Regions from separate parts of the Homo sapiens genome. Here regions 1, 2 and 4 are each linked to region 3. Evidence: promoter capture Hi-C in 16 types of primary human blood cells and fetal thymus (Javierre and others, 2016). All regions are on one chromosome and are shown on one strand. Each heading gives the region's core, a stretch centred on a gene start or on the middle of the fragment in contact. The rest is flanking DNA. Distances are from core to core; before and after follow the strand shown.

Region 1 (2,700 bases), core at 148-2,647, 250 kb after region 3:
TAAGCTTAACTCACAGGGAAGGATGTGGCTTTCATGTCTGAGGCTCCAGAGCACAGAGTGTGGCACCAGCAGGGGCCCAGTCAGTATCTGCTTGTGAATAAGCCTGTGAGCTGAGGCAGTACCCTCTACATTCAAGTCTGTCCTCTGAGGTCTTCTGGGCATCTTGAGACTGTGGGTTCCCTGAATGGCTTTGGGCATACCCAGCATTAAGCACTTTATCTGCTTCCTTTTGAAATATGTGGTTGATTTACCAAGCATTTCTAGAGTGCTCACTAAGAGCTGGCTAGGTAACCACTTAATAAATACTTGATTCAATTTAGTTCTCAAACAGCCCTTTGACAAAGATTCTCTGCTTGGCCAAACTCTGGTCAGGCTCCAGAACCTCCTCCTGGGTCCATCTGTGCACTTTCTTGTGAAATCCAGTTTTAGGAAGAGCCCCGCTAAGTCAGTTTAACTAGAACCCCTGATTCTGAATATCTGATCGCCCTCTGTGCTATCTGATGGGGTTCCTCATCCTCCATCCCCAGGTGATATCTGATCACCCTGCCTGCCTCCAGCAAGAGCCATGTGAGGTTCGTTTACCCAGAATCCCCCTCACACCTGATGTCTTCTTCTTCTTCTTCTTCTTCTTCTTCTTCTTCTTCTTCTTCTTCTTCTTCTTCTTCTTCTTCTTCTTCTTCTTCTTCTTCTTCTTTTTGAGATGGAATCTTGCTCTGTTGCCCAGTAGCACAATCTCAGTTCACTGCAACGTCCACCTCCCGGGTTCAAATGATTTTCCTGCCTCAGCCTCCTGAGTAGCTGGGATTACAGGCATGCCTGACCATGCTAGGCTAAGTTTTGTATTTTTAGTGGAGACAGGGTTTTGCCATATTGGCCAGGCTGGTCTCAAACTGCTGACCTCAAGTGATCCACCCTCCTCAGCCTCCCAAAGTGTTAGGATTACAGGCATGAGCCACCGTACTTGGCCCTGATGTCTCCTCTTAATACTGTTCTATCCACTAATCTACCCTACTCCTGTCTATAAATTTCCACTTGTCAGTGCGGTACTCAGAATTGAGCCCAATCTCTCTACCCTGCTGCAGAATCCCACTGCAATGGTCCTAATCCTACTCCACCGTCCTGAATGAAGCCTTCCTCACCATGGTTTAACAAACGTTAATATATGTACATATATAGCACTGCTTGCCTTGGTCCTGCCAGCCCAGTGAGATGCTGGTCTTCCCACCAGGTTCTTACTAAGGCTTCCTGGCTTCCTACTGGTGTGGAAAGGTTTGAAACAAAACTTGGAGTGGGACAGGAGGTGGGCATTCTAAGGACTTTGGGTAAGAATATGTCTTTCAGGTACTAAGATTTAGGATTTGCTCTGCCCACCATATGGTGGCTGCTTGGTGGTGTCAGGAAATCAGTCCTGGTTCTCATGGGTGGTGATTGCTAGGGACTCAATGTCTGCGTTCCCTCCAAATTTCTAGGTTGAAAACCCCCATCCCCAGGGTGATGGTGTTAGAAGGTGGGGCCTTTGGGGGATGATTATGTCATGAGGGTGGAGTGGCATGGTAGGATTCATGCCCTTATAAGAAGAGACACAAGACAGCTTGCTTTTCTCTTTCTCTCTGCTGCAGGGCCCAAGGAAAAACTTTCCTATTGCCCTCTGAAGATTCACTAAAAATCAGCTGACAAAAGACAGATTAAAAGAGAAAAGGCATACACATTTATTTGATCATAGTTTAGTGTGACAAAAAAGCCTTCAGAATGAATACAGAAGAAGCTGTCTATTTTAATGCTTAGGTTCAACAAAATATGGACTGCTATGTAGAAATAGGATTGGGCATGATCTACTGCTAATACACTGAGTGGGGACATCCAGCAAGCCCTGTCTGTCTAGATTCTTCTTGGCCTCTCTGCGTGGCATTCCTTCCTCTTGGGTATGAGACAGGACCCTCTGTGGAATGGGAGTCTTATGACGTACAACCAGACAAGGTGGCCCAGAGAATTTATGGTCAGCATTTGCACAGAAAGGCAGGAGTTAGAGTAATATTTTTAGGATTTGTGTCTGGCTGTGGGGAAAAGGGGTTGCGGTTTTTATGACCTGCCTTGGGGAAGAGGTATTCTAGTTTCTATGGCCAGTCTGGGGGAGAATGGGACTGAGACAGGAAGGCAGGAGATCAGAGAAAGTTTTTTGCTTCAGAGGTCTTCATTTTAGGATATCGCTTTCTAGCACCATGTGAGGACACAGGGAGAAGATGGCTAGGTGCAAACCAGTAAGAATGACCTCACAAAACCCAACCCTGCTGACACCCTGATCTCAGACTACTAGCCTTGGATAATCAGCACTCTTTGGGGGAAAATAACGACACAAAATGTATGTGTTATGTAACTGTAATGTGCAGTTTGTATTAAATGTCTTTTGTGTGTGTGTGTGTGTGTGTGTGTGTTTTTTTTTTGAGACAGGGTCTTGCTCTGTTGCCCAGGCCAGAGTGCAGTGGTGTGATTCATAGCTCACTGCAGCCTCAAACTCCTGGGTTCAAGCAATCCTCCTATCTCAGCCTCCCAAGTAGCTGGGACTATAGGTACGTGCCACCATGCCTGGCTAATTTTTTTTTTTTTTGTAGAGACAGGGTTTTTCTATGTTTCCCACACAGGTCTCTTTTCCCCCAAAGACTTTGATAAATTTCTGTTGTTTAAGTCTCCCCTTCTGTAGCA
Region 2 (2,700 bases), core at 90-2,589, 210 kb after region 3:
GCACAGGCCAGCGGAAGGAACCCCCCGAAACCCAAGAGACTAGCTTGCTACAGCAACTCTTCGACCAGGTGGGTGGCTCTTAAAAGAGCCTTTGGGGTGAACGTTGCGCAACCTCTCAGGTGGCGAGATAGCCCTCCTAGGCCCGCTCCCCGCGGATACGGCGTGCCAGCTGGATGTCCTTAGGCATGATGGTGACCCGTTTGGCATGGATGACACACAGGTTGGTGTCCTCAAACAGCCCCACCAGGTAAGACTCGCACGCCTCCTGCAGCGCCATCACGGCCGAGCTCTGGAAGCGCAGGTCGGTCTTAAAGTCCTGAGCGATCTCGCGCATCAGCCGCTGGAAGGGCAACTTGCGGATTAGCAGCTCAGTGGACTTCTGGTAGCGGCGGATCTCGCGAAGCGCCACCGTGCCGGGCCGGTAGCGGTGCGGCTTCTTCACGCCGCCAGTGGCAGGTGCGCTCTTGCGAGCCACCTTGGTGGCCAGCTGCTTGCGCGGCGCCTTGCCACCCGTTGACTTGCGCGCAGTCTGCTTGGTTCGGGCCATGAATCCGAAACTGTTGGCCCCGCGGTGTCCTCTGCCCAGACCTCAGCGGATTGCTCGCTTTTATAGAGCTTGCCGCGTTCCCATTGGCTGGCCTCAGGTGGCGTGATGGCCCACTGCTCTCTGATTGGCCCACAGGGAACTCCACTCGGGCGCCTCTCCCTTATATTCATGCCTGTTGGTCGTGGCCACCAGAGCTGGCACCAGCATTGTGAAGGGTTGATGCGGGTAGGCCGCGGTGGTGGGGATCATCTCTCTCCAGCACAAGCTTCCTCATGTCTTCTCAGCGCTCCTCTTCTCCCTTCCCCATGACTTGGGTGGCAAGAGCCTTCCAGAAGCCAGCACATGGCATTCCACTTTTTTAAAAAATTAATTTATTTTTTTATTTTTTGAGATGGAGTTTCACTCTTGTTGCCCAGGCTGGAGTGCAATAGCGTGATCTCTGCTTACTGCAACCTCCACCTCCCAGGTTCAAGCGATTCTCCTGCCTCAGCCTCCCGAGTAACTGGAATTACAGGGATTACAGGTGTCCGCCACCATGCCTGGCTAATTTTTTGTGTTTTTAATAGAGATGGGGTTTCACCATATTGGCCAGGCTGGTCTCGAACTCCTGACCTCAGGTGATCCACCCGCCTCGGCCTCCCAAAGTGCTGGGATTACAGGCATGAGCCACCAGGCCCAGCTGGCATTTCACTTTTTTTTTTTTTTTTTTGAGACGGAGTCTCTCTCTGTCGCCCAGGCTGGAGTGCAGTGGCGCAATCCCAGCTCACTGCAAGCTCCGCCTCCCGGGTTCACGCCATTCTCCTGCCTCAGCCTACAGAGTAGCTGGGACTACAGGTGCCCGCCATCATGCCTGGCTAATTTTGTTTTGTATTTTTAGTAGAGACGGGGTTTCACCATGTTAGCCAGGATGGTCTCGATCTCCTGACCTCGTGATCCGCCCGCCTCGGCCTCCCAAAGTGTTGGGATTACAGGCGTGAGCCAGCGTGCCCGGCCGGCATTCCACTTTTACACAGTGACAAAGCTCTGGGATGCAGCCAGAGTTAAAGGAATCTCCCACTTTTTATGACCTGCAAAGAACTCCCTTACCTGTACGGCTTAGATGAGCCTTAGGATTCTGAAGAAGGTAAAGATGTGCCTTTCTGGCATATTGTCTATTTTGAGATAAAGGCACTTAAAAAAAAAAAAGAAGAAGCAGGTGTAGGAAGATCATTCTGAATTTCTTGTTGTTTCTTAAATACAAGAGATGAAATTCCCATATGAAAGATGTTCTCCTTATAGTAAAAGCAAGGGAACGTTCTTATCATCAAGGACGGGAGGTGGAAGCTTCCAAATCTCCTCCAACTCTCAAGTTGAAATTTGATCCCTAAAGTTGGAGCCCAGGGAGGGGGGGGCCAGTGGGAGGTGTGTGGGTCCTGGGGTGTCACCCTCTGAATAGAGTCCTGCCCTCCTTTAGGGTGAGTTTTCACTCTGTTGGTTCCCTGAAGAGCTGGTGTTGAAAAGAGCCTGGCACCCCTCTCCCCTCTCTCTCTGGCGTCCTCTCTCGCGGCAGCCCTGTGACCTCTGCACATACATGGGTTCCCCTTCACCTTCCACCATGAGCAGAAGCAGCCAGAGGCCCTCACCAGAAGCAGAGGTGGGCCCTATGCTTGCTTCCTTCCTTTCTCCCTCCCTCCCTTCCTTTCTCCTTCCCTCCCTTCCTCACTCCCTCCCTTCCTTTCTCCTTCCCTCCCTTCCTTTCTCCTTCCCTCCCTTCCTTTCTCCTTCCCTCCCTTCCTTTCTCCTTCCCTCCCTTCCTCACTCCCTCCCTCCCTTCCTTTTTTTCTTCTCCCTTCCCCTCCCCTCCTTTCCCTCCTTTTTTCATCTTGCTCTGTTGCCCAGGCCCCTCTTACCTCAGCCTCCCAAGTAGCTGGGACCACATCCAGCTAATTTTTAAATTTTTAATTTTTTTGTAGAGATGGGCTGTCATTATGTTGCCCAAGCTGGTCTTGAATTCCTGAGTTCAACTGATCCCCCGACCTTGGCCTCCCAAAGTGCTAGGATTACACCGTGCCCGGCCACTATGCTTTTTTTTTTTTAATTTTTTGACCTGAGTCTCACTCTGTTGCCCAGGCTGGAGTGCAGTGATGTGATCTCAGCCCACTGCAACATCCGCC
Region 3 (2,895 bases), core at 238-2,737:
TTCCGCTGCCGCGTGGGTGGCTCCCCGAGGCCGGCAGTGAGCTGGTCCAAGGACGGGCGGCGCCTGGGTGAGCCCGACGGCCCCCGCGTGCGCGTGGAGGAGCTCGGCGAGGCAAGTGCGCTGCGCATTCGGGCGGCGCGGCCGCGCGACGGCGGCACTTACGAGGTCCGCGCCGAGAACCCGCTGGGCGCTGCCAGCGCCGCCGCGGCGCTAGTGGTGGACTCGGACGCCGCGGACACGGCCAGCCGGCCCGGGACCTCCACGGCCGCGCTCCTGGCGCACCTGCAGCGGCGGCGCGAGGCTATGCGCGCCGAGGGCGCCCCCGCCTCACCGCCCAGCACCGGCACGCGCACCTGCACGGTGACTGAAGGCAAGCACGCGCGCCTCAGCTGCTACGTGACCGGCGAGCCCAAGCCCGAGACGGTGTGGAAGAAGGACGGCCAGCTGGTGACCGAGGGCCGGCGCCACGTGGTGTACGAGGACGCGCAGGAGAACTTCGTGCTCAAGATCCTCTTCTGCAAGCAGTCGGACCGCGGCCTCTACACCTGCACGGCGTCCAACCTCGTGGGCCAGACCTACAGCTCTGTGCTGGTCGTAGTGCGCGGTGAGCTCCTGGGTGCGGGGCGCGCGGGCCCAGGCTCCTCCGCAACCCGTGCACCTGGGTCCTTTCGCCCTTGCGGTCTGCCGTTTCCCACCCGCGTCTGTCCGGTCGTGGAATCCAGGGTTGCAGGTGTCCGTTCCTGGTGCGCAAAATGCGGGCGACGCCCCACGACCTATTCTAAACACCCGCAACCCGCTTTCCCCACCCAGTCCCCTGCCCGCCCCGCCCCCTTTGCATGCCGCGCCCCCAACCCGCCACCGCTGGCCCACAGACAGGGGCGAGAGGTGTGAGAGGGGCGGGGCCGCAGGGGATCCCACCTCCTCAGCCCCGCCCTCTCCCTCCCGCTGCTCCCAACCCAACCTCCACCACTCTGCCTTCTGCTCTTCTACTCCCCCGCCCCCCAACTTCCTGTCTCCTCCCCTGCGCCCTTCCCAACCCTTAGCCCCTCTGCCTCCTGCTCGCTCCTCTCCCCAGCCCACTCCTCTACCCTGCACCCTCTCCTTTCCAGCCTCCCAGCCCCTCTGCTCCTGTCCCCTATTCCTTCCCACACCCTCACCTCTGCATCCTCCAGTCTCCTTTCCCGCCCACAATCCCCCAATTTCCCCCTTCCCACCCCGCCGTCGTCCTGCACCCTCCGGCCCCGCCCCTCTCACCAGTCTTCTCTCCTGGCAGAGCCCGCGGTTCCCTTCAAAAAGCGGCTGCAAGATCTGGAGGTGCGGGAGAAGGAGTCGGCCACGTTCCTATGTGAGGTGCCCCAGCCGTCCACTGAGGCCGCGTGGTTCAAGGAGGAGACGCGGTTGTGGGCGAGCGCCAAGTACGGCATCGAGGAGGAGGGCACCGAGCGCCGCCTGACCGTGCGCAATGTCTCGGCCGACGACGACGCGGTGTACATCTGCGAGACGCCAGAGGGCAGCCGCACGGTGGCGGAGCTCGCAGTCCAAGGCAGGCGGGGCGGGGCACGGGGCGGGGCACAGGGCGGCTTCGGGGAGGTAGCGGGGGCAAGGAGGCACCGAGAAGGGAGCCGGGGGCGGGGGAGGGGGGAGCCAGGCCGCACGGGCTGGGCGGGCACGGGGGCGGGCAGGGTGCAGACGGACTGGGCTTGCGAGGTACGAGTTGGGACTGGGGCAGGCAGGGGCGGGACTGGGGCGGGAAGGGCAGGTAAGGTGGGGGCGGAGGAGCAAGCTCGGGCCGGGCACGGGGTGGTGATTAGGGGGAAGGGGAGACGGAGTGGGCAGGGGTCTTGTGGGACCGAGCTGGGACTTGGGCCGGCGGGACAGGTAAGGGGTTGCGCGGGGGAGTGAATCGGAGGCAGTTGGGAACCGGGAGACAGGGGGCAAGCGGAGGAGCGAGTCTGGAGCGGGGCGTGCAGGGGCTGGTCTGACTGGCCCGGCTCCCTCCACCCCAGGAAACCTCCTCCGAAAGCTCCCTCGGAAGACGGCGGTGCGCGTGGGCGACACGGCTATGTTTTGCGTGGAGCTGGCGGTCCCGGTGGGCCCCGTCCACTGGCTGCGGAACCAGGAGGAAGTGGTGGCGGGGGGCCGCGTGGCCATCTCCGCGGAGGGCACGCGCCACACACTAACCATCTCCCAGTGCTGCCTGGAGGATGTGGGCCAGGTGGCCTTTATGGCTGGCGACTGCCAGACGTCCACCCAGTTCTGCGTGTCGGGTGAGGGCCTGAGGGTGCTCCCAGGATGGCATCGCTTCCCTGCTGTCTCCCTGGTCCCAGTCCCCTGCCCTCCATTACCTCAGCTCTCTGGGCTTCAGCCTGCTGTACCGAGGGCCGCCGGGCAAGACCATAGCCCTGGCCCTCCAACGTTAGGCTCCCTGAGCCCCCGCGCAGTCTTTCAGCTGCAACCAGAGAAGTGGCTGCAGGTCTGGGGCTGGAGGTTGTGGCCAGTGGTCCAGGTCCCCAGAGCAGCCCCAAGAGAGCTGGGGATCCTGTGACACCCCTCCAGGTGATTCCAGACCCAGGGCTCAGGAAGAGGCTCCCAGTAGTTGACCTCTGCCCACCCTCTACACAGCCCCCAGGAAGCCTCCCCTGCAACCCCCTGTGGATCCTGTGGTAAAGGCCAGGATGGAGAGTTCCGTGATTCTCAGCTGGTCCCCACCACCCCATGGGGAACGCCCTGTCACTATCGACGGCTACCTGGTAGAGAAGAAGAAGCTTGGCACCTACACCTGGATCAGGTGCCACGAGGCTGAATGGGTGGCTACACCTGAGCTGACCGTGGCTGATGTGGCGGAGGAGGGGAACTTCCAGTTCCGAGTGTCCGCTCTCAACAGCTTTGGTCAGA
Region 4 (2,764 bases), core at 8-2,507, 240 kb after region 3:
CTATGTTGCCCAGGCTGGTCTCCAAAGCCTGGGCTCTAGCAATCCTCCCACCTTAGGCTCTGGGATTAGAGGCATGAGCCACCCTACCGACCCTCCTAGATTAGTAATGTTGAACACCTATTCATATGCCTGTTGGCCATATGTATGCCTTCTTGGGAGAAATGCCTATTTAGGTCCTTTGTCTATTTTTAAAGTTAGGTTATTTGGTTCTTGTTTTGGTTTTGTTTTTTGCTAATAAGTTGTAGGAGCTCTTATATATTTTGGGTATTAACCCCTTACCAGATGTTTGGTTTGCAAATGTTTTCACCCATCCATAGGTTGCCTTTTAATTTTGTTGATCCAGCCATCTCACTTCTGAGTATGCCCAATGGAAATAAAATCACTGTCATAAAGAGATACTTGCACTCCCATGTTAATTACAGCACTATTCATAATAGCTGAGATACAGAAACAACCTAAATGTCCATCAGTGAATGAATAAAGAAAACGTGGTATAGATATTAGTGTTACATGCTATACTACACTATAATAATGAAAATTATTCAGGTCTAAAAAAGAAGGAAACCATGTCAACAACATGGATGAACCCAGAGGACATTATGCTAAGTGAAATAAGCCAGGCACAGAAAGACAAATAATACTGCATGAGCCAACTTATATATGGAATCTAAAAAAGTCAGGGGCTGGGTGAGGAGGAGTACAAAGCTTCAGCTATAAGATAAGTAGTTCTGGAGACCTGAAGCACAGCATGGAGACTCTGGTTAATAACATATCATGGACATAAAATTTACTGAGTAGATCTTACATGTTGTCACCGCACACACAGACACATGCACACACACACAGGTAACCACATGAGGTGATGTGTGTGTTAATTGATTTGACTGTGGTAATCATTTCACCACGTGACATGTACCAAGACATCATGCTGTGCACCTTGAATATGTACGAGCTTTATTTGTAGATCATACTGTCAGAGGCATTTGAGTTAGAGCAACTCCATCTTGAATAGGGGCTGGGTAAAATAAGGCTGAGACCTGCTGGACTGCATTCCCAGGAGGTTAGGCATTCTAAGTTACAGGATGAGATAGGAGGTCGGCACAAGATATAGGTCACAAAGACCTTGCTAATGAAACAGCACGCGGTAAAGAAGGCAGCCAAATCCCACCAAAACCAAGATGGCGACTAATGTGACCTCTGGTCGTCCTCACTGCTCATTATAATACATTAATTATCATTAATTATAAGTAAAAGATACTCCCAACAGCATCATGACAATTTACAAATGCCATGGAAACATCAGGAAGTTACCCTATATGGTCTATAAAGGGAAGGAACCCTCAGGTCCAAGAATTGCTCACCCCTTTCCTGGGAAACGCATGAATAATTCACCCCTTGTTTAGCATATAATCAAGAAATGACCATAAAAGTGGCCAACCAGTAGCCCTCAGAGCTGCTCTGCCTATGGAGTAGCCATTCTTTTATCCCTTCACTTTCTTCCTTTTTTTTTTAATGGTGAAAATATATGCATATATTTAGAATTAGCCAGCTGGACTCAGTTTAGATGATCCCAATTTTGTTGGTAACATCCAAAGCACTGTAATCAGGAGCCAGTTGAACATATGCTCTCCATCAGGCTGATCAGGGTGTTGACCTTGGCCACATTAATGTCACAGAGCTTCTTCACAGCCTGTTTGATCTGGTGCTTCTTGGCTTTAACATCCACAGTGATCACAAGTGTGTTGCTGTCTTCTATCTTCTTCATGGCAGACTCAGTGGTTAGTGGAAACTTGATGATAGCACAGTGGTCAAGCTTGTTGGGGACAATTTGCCCAGGATATTTGGGCTGCCTCCGGAGTCACAGTGTCTTGGGCCACCAGAAGGTGGGTGACATGCGGATCTTCTTTTTTTGTGTGTGGCTATGGACACCTTTCAACACTGCCTTCTTGGCCTTCAAAGCCTTTGCTTTGGCTTCGGCTTTAGGAAGGGCAGGAGTTTCCTTCTTCGCTTTCAGTGCCATCTTGTGAAAAGCTCCTTTACTTTCTTAATAAACTTGCTTTCACTTTATGGATTTGCCCTGAATTCTTTCTTGTATGAGATCCAAGAACCCTCTCTTGGGGTCTGGATCGAGACCCCTTTCCGGTAACAGTACCTCAATAAAGCTGGGAAAAAATAAAAAGGGACCAGTAAAGCATTCTCAACAACAAAGAGCGTGGGGCTTTTCTTTGTAGGGCCCTGTGAGGCCTCTGGGGGTTTTCCAAGAAGCAAGGGCTTTGAGACTGTGTGGGTAAAGCTCCTGGGGCTGGAAATGTGATAGTTTTATAACTGTGATGATAGGGCCAGGCACAATGGCTCATGCCTGTAATTGGGAGGCCAAGGCGGGAGGAATGCATGAGCACAGGTGTTGGAGACCAGCCTGGGCAATATGGTGAAACCACTGTCTCTACAAAATACAAAAAACTACCCAGGTTTGGGGAGCCTGCCTGTAGTCCCAGCTACTCAGGAGGCTGAGGTGGGAGGATTGCTTGAGGTTGAGACAGCAGTGAGCTGTGATTGTTGCCACTGCACTGCACTCCAGTCTCGGCAACAAATTGAGACGCTGTCTCGAAAAAAAAAATGTGATGATGGCAAGTCTATCATGCACAAGCATGCTGCCCCGCACACCTTCAGGGACGGTCCCACTGGTTGTAGTGATCCACTGTGCAGGTGTCCTTGAGAATGCAGCCAGGCGGGGTTTCTCCTGCCTTCCCAGAGCTCGGCTTGT

The links. The method cuts DNA at HindIII sites, captures the fragments that hold promoters and counts their contacts. A CHiCAGO score of 5 or more calls a contact.
Region 1: a contact is called between a fragment that was not itself captured here and the fragment with the promoter of OBSCN-AS1 in region 3, in 13 of 17 cell types (naive CD4 T cells, non-activated CD4 T cells, total CD4 T cells and 10 more). The highest score is 9.7, in naive CD4 T cells.
Region 2: a contact is called between a fragment that was not itself captured here and the fragment with the promoter of OBSCN-AS1 in region 3, in 2 of 17 cell types (non-activated CD4 T cells and endothelial precursors). The highest score is 6.0, in non-activated CD4 T cells.
Region 4: a fragment that was not itself captured here is called in contact with the fragment with the promoter of OBSCN-AS1 in region 3 in 4 of 17 cell types (naive CD8 T cells, non-activated CD4 T cells, M0 macrophages and 1 more); the score reaches 7.1 in naive CD8 T cells.

What each region holds. Positions count from the first base shown.
Region 1 is chr1:228,465,919-228,468,618 of GRCh38, forward strand. No RefSeq gene overlaps it. Among named protein-coding and RNA genes, the nearest start is that of MIR4666A, 5.2 kb to the left of the region's middle. The HindIII fragment of the contact is 2,790 bases long and covers 3-2,700 here.
Region 2 is chr1:228,424,779-228,427,478 of GRCh38, forward strand. H3-4 (H3.4 histone, cluster member) reads right to left here and starts at 582. Exons shown (of 1, transcript NM_003493.3): 1 at 67-582. The coding sequence starts at 547. The coding sequence ends at 137. The HindIII fragment of the contact is 1,058 bases long and covers 811-1,868 here.
Region 3 is chr1:228,212,168-228,215,062 of GRCh38, forward strand. It overlaps OBSCN-AS1 (OBSCN antisense RNA 1), which reads right to left and starts at 1,488. Exons shown (of 2, transcript NR_073155.1): 1 at 1,255-1,488. OBSCN (obscurin, cytoskeletal calmodulin and titin-interacting RhoGEF) reads left to right here. Exons shown (of 116, transcript NM_001386125.1): 2 at 1-604; 3 at 1,274-1,543; 4 at 2,007-2,267; 5 at 2,623-2,895. RefSeq lists a silencer at 1,575-1,624. The HindIII fragment of the contact is 3,550 bases long and covers 1-2,763 here.
Region 4 is chr1:228,447,601-228,450,364 of GRCh38, forward strand. It overlaps the pseudogene RPL23AP15. Among named protein-coding and RNA genes, the nearest start is that of H2AC25, 8.9 kb to the right of the region's middle. The HindIII fragment of the contact is 1,108 bases long and covers 704-1,811 here.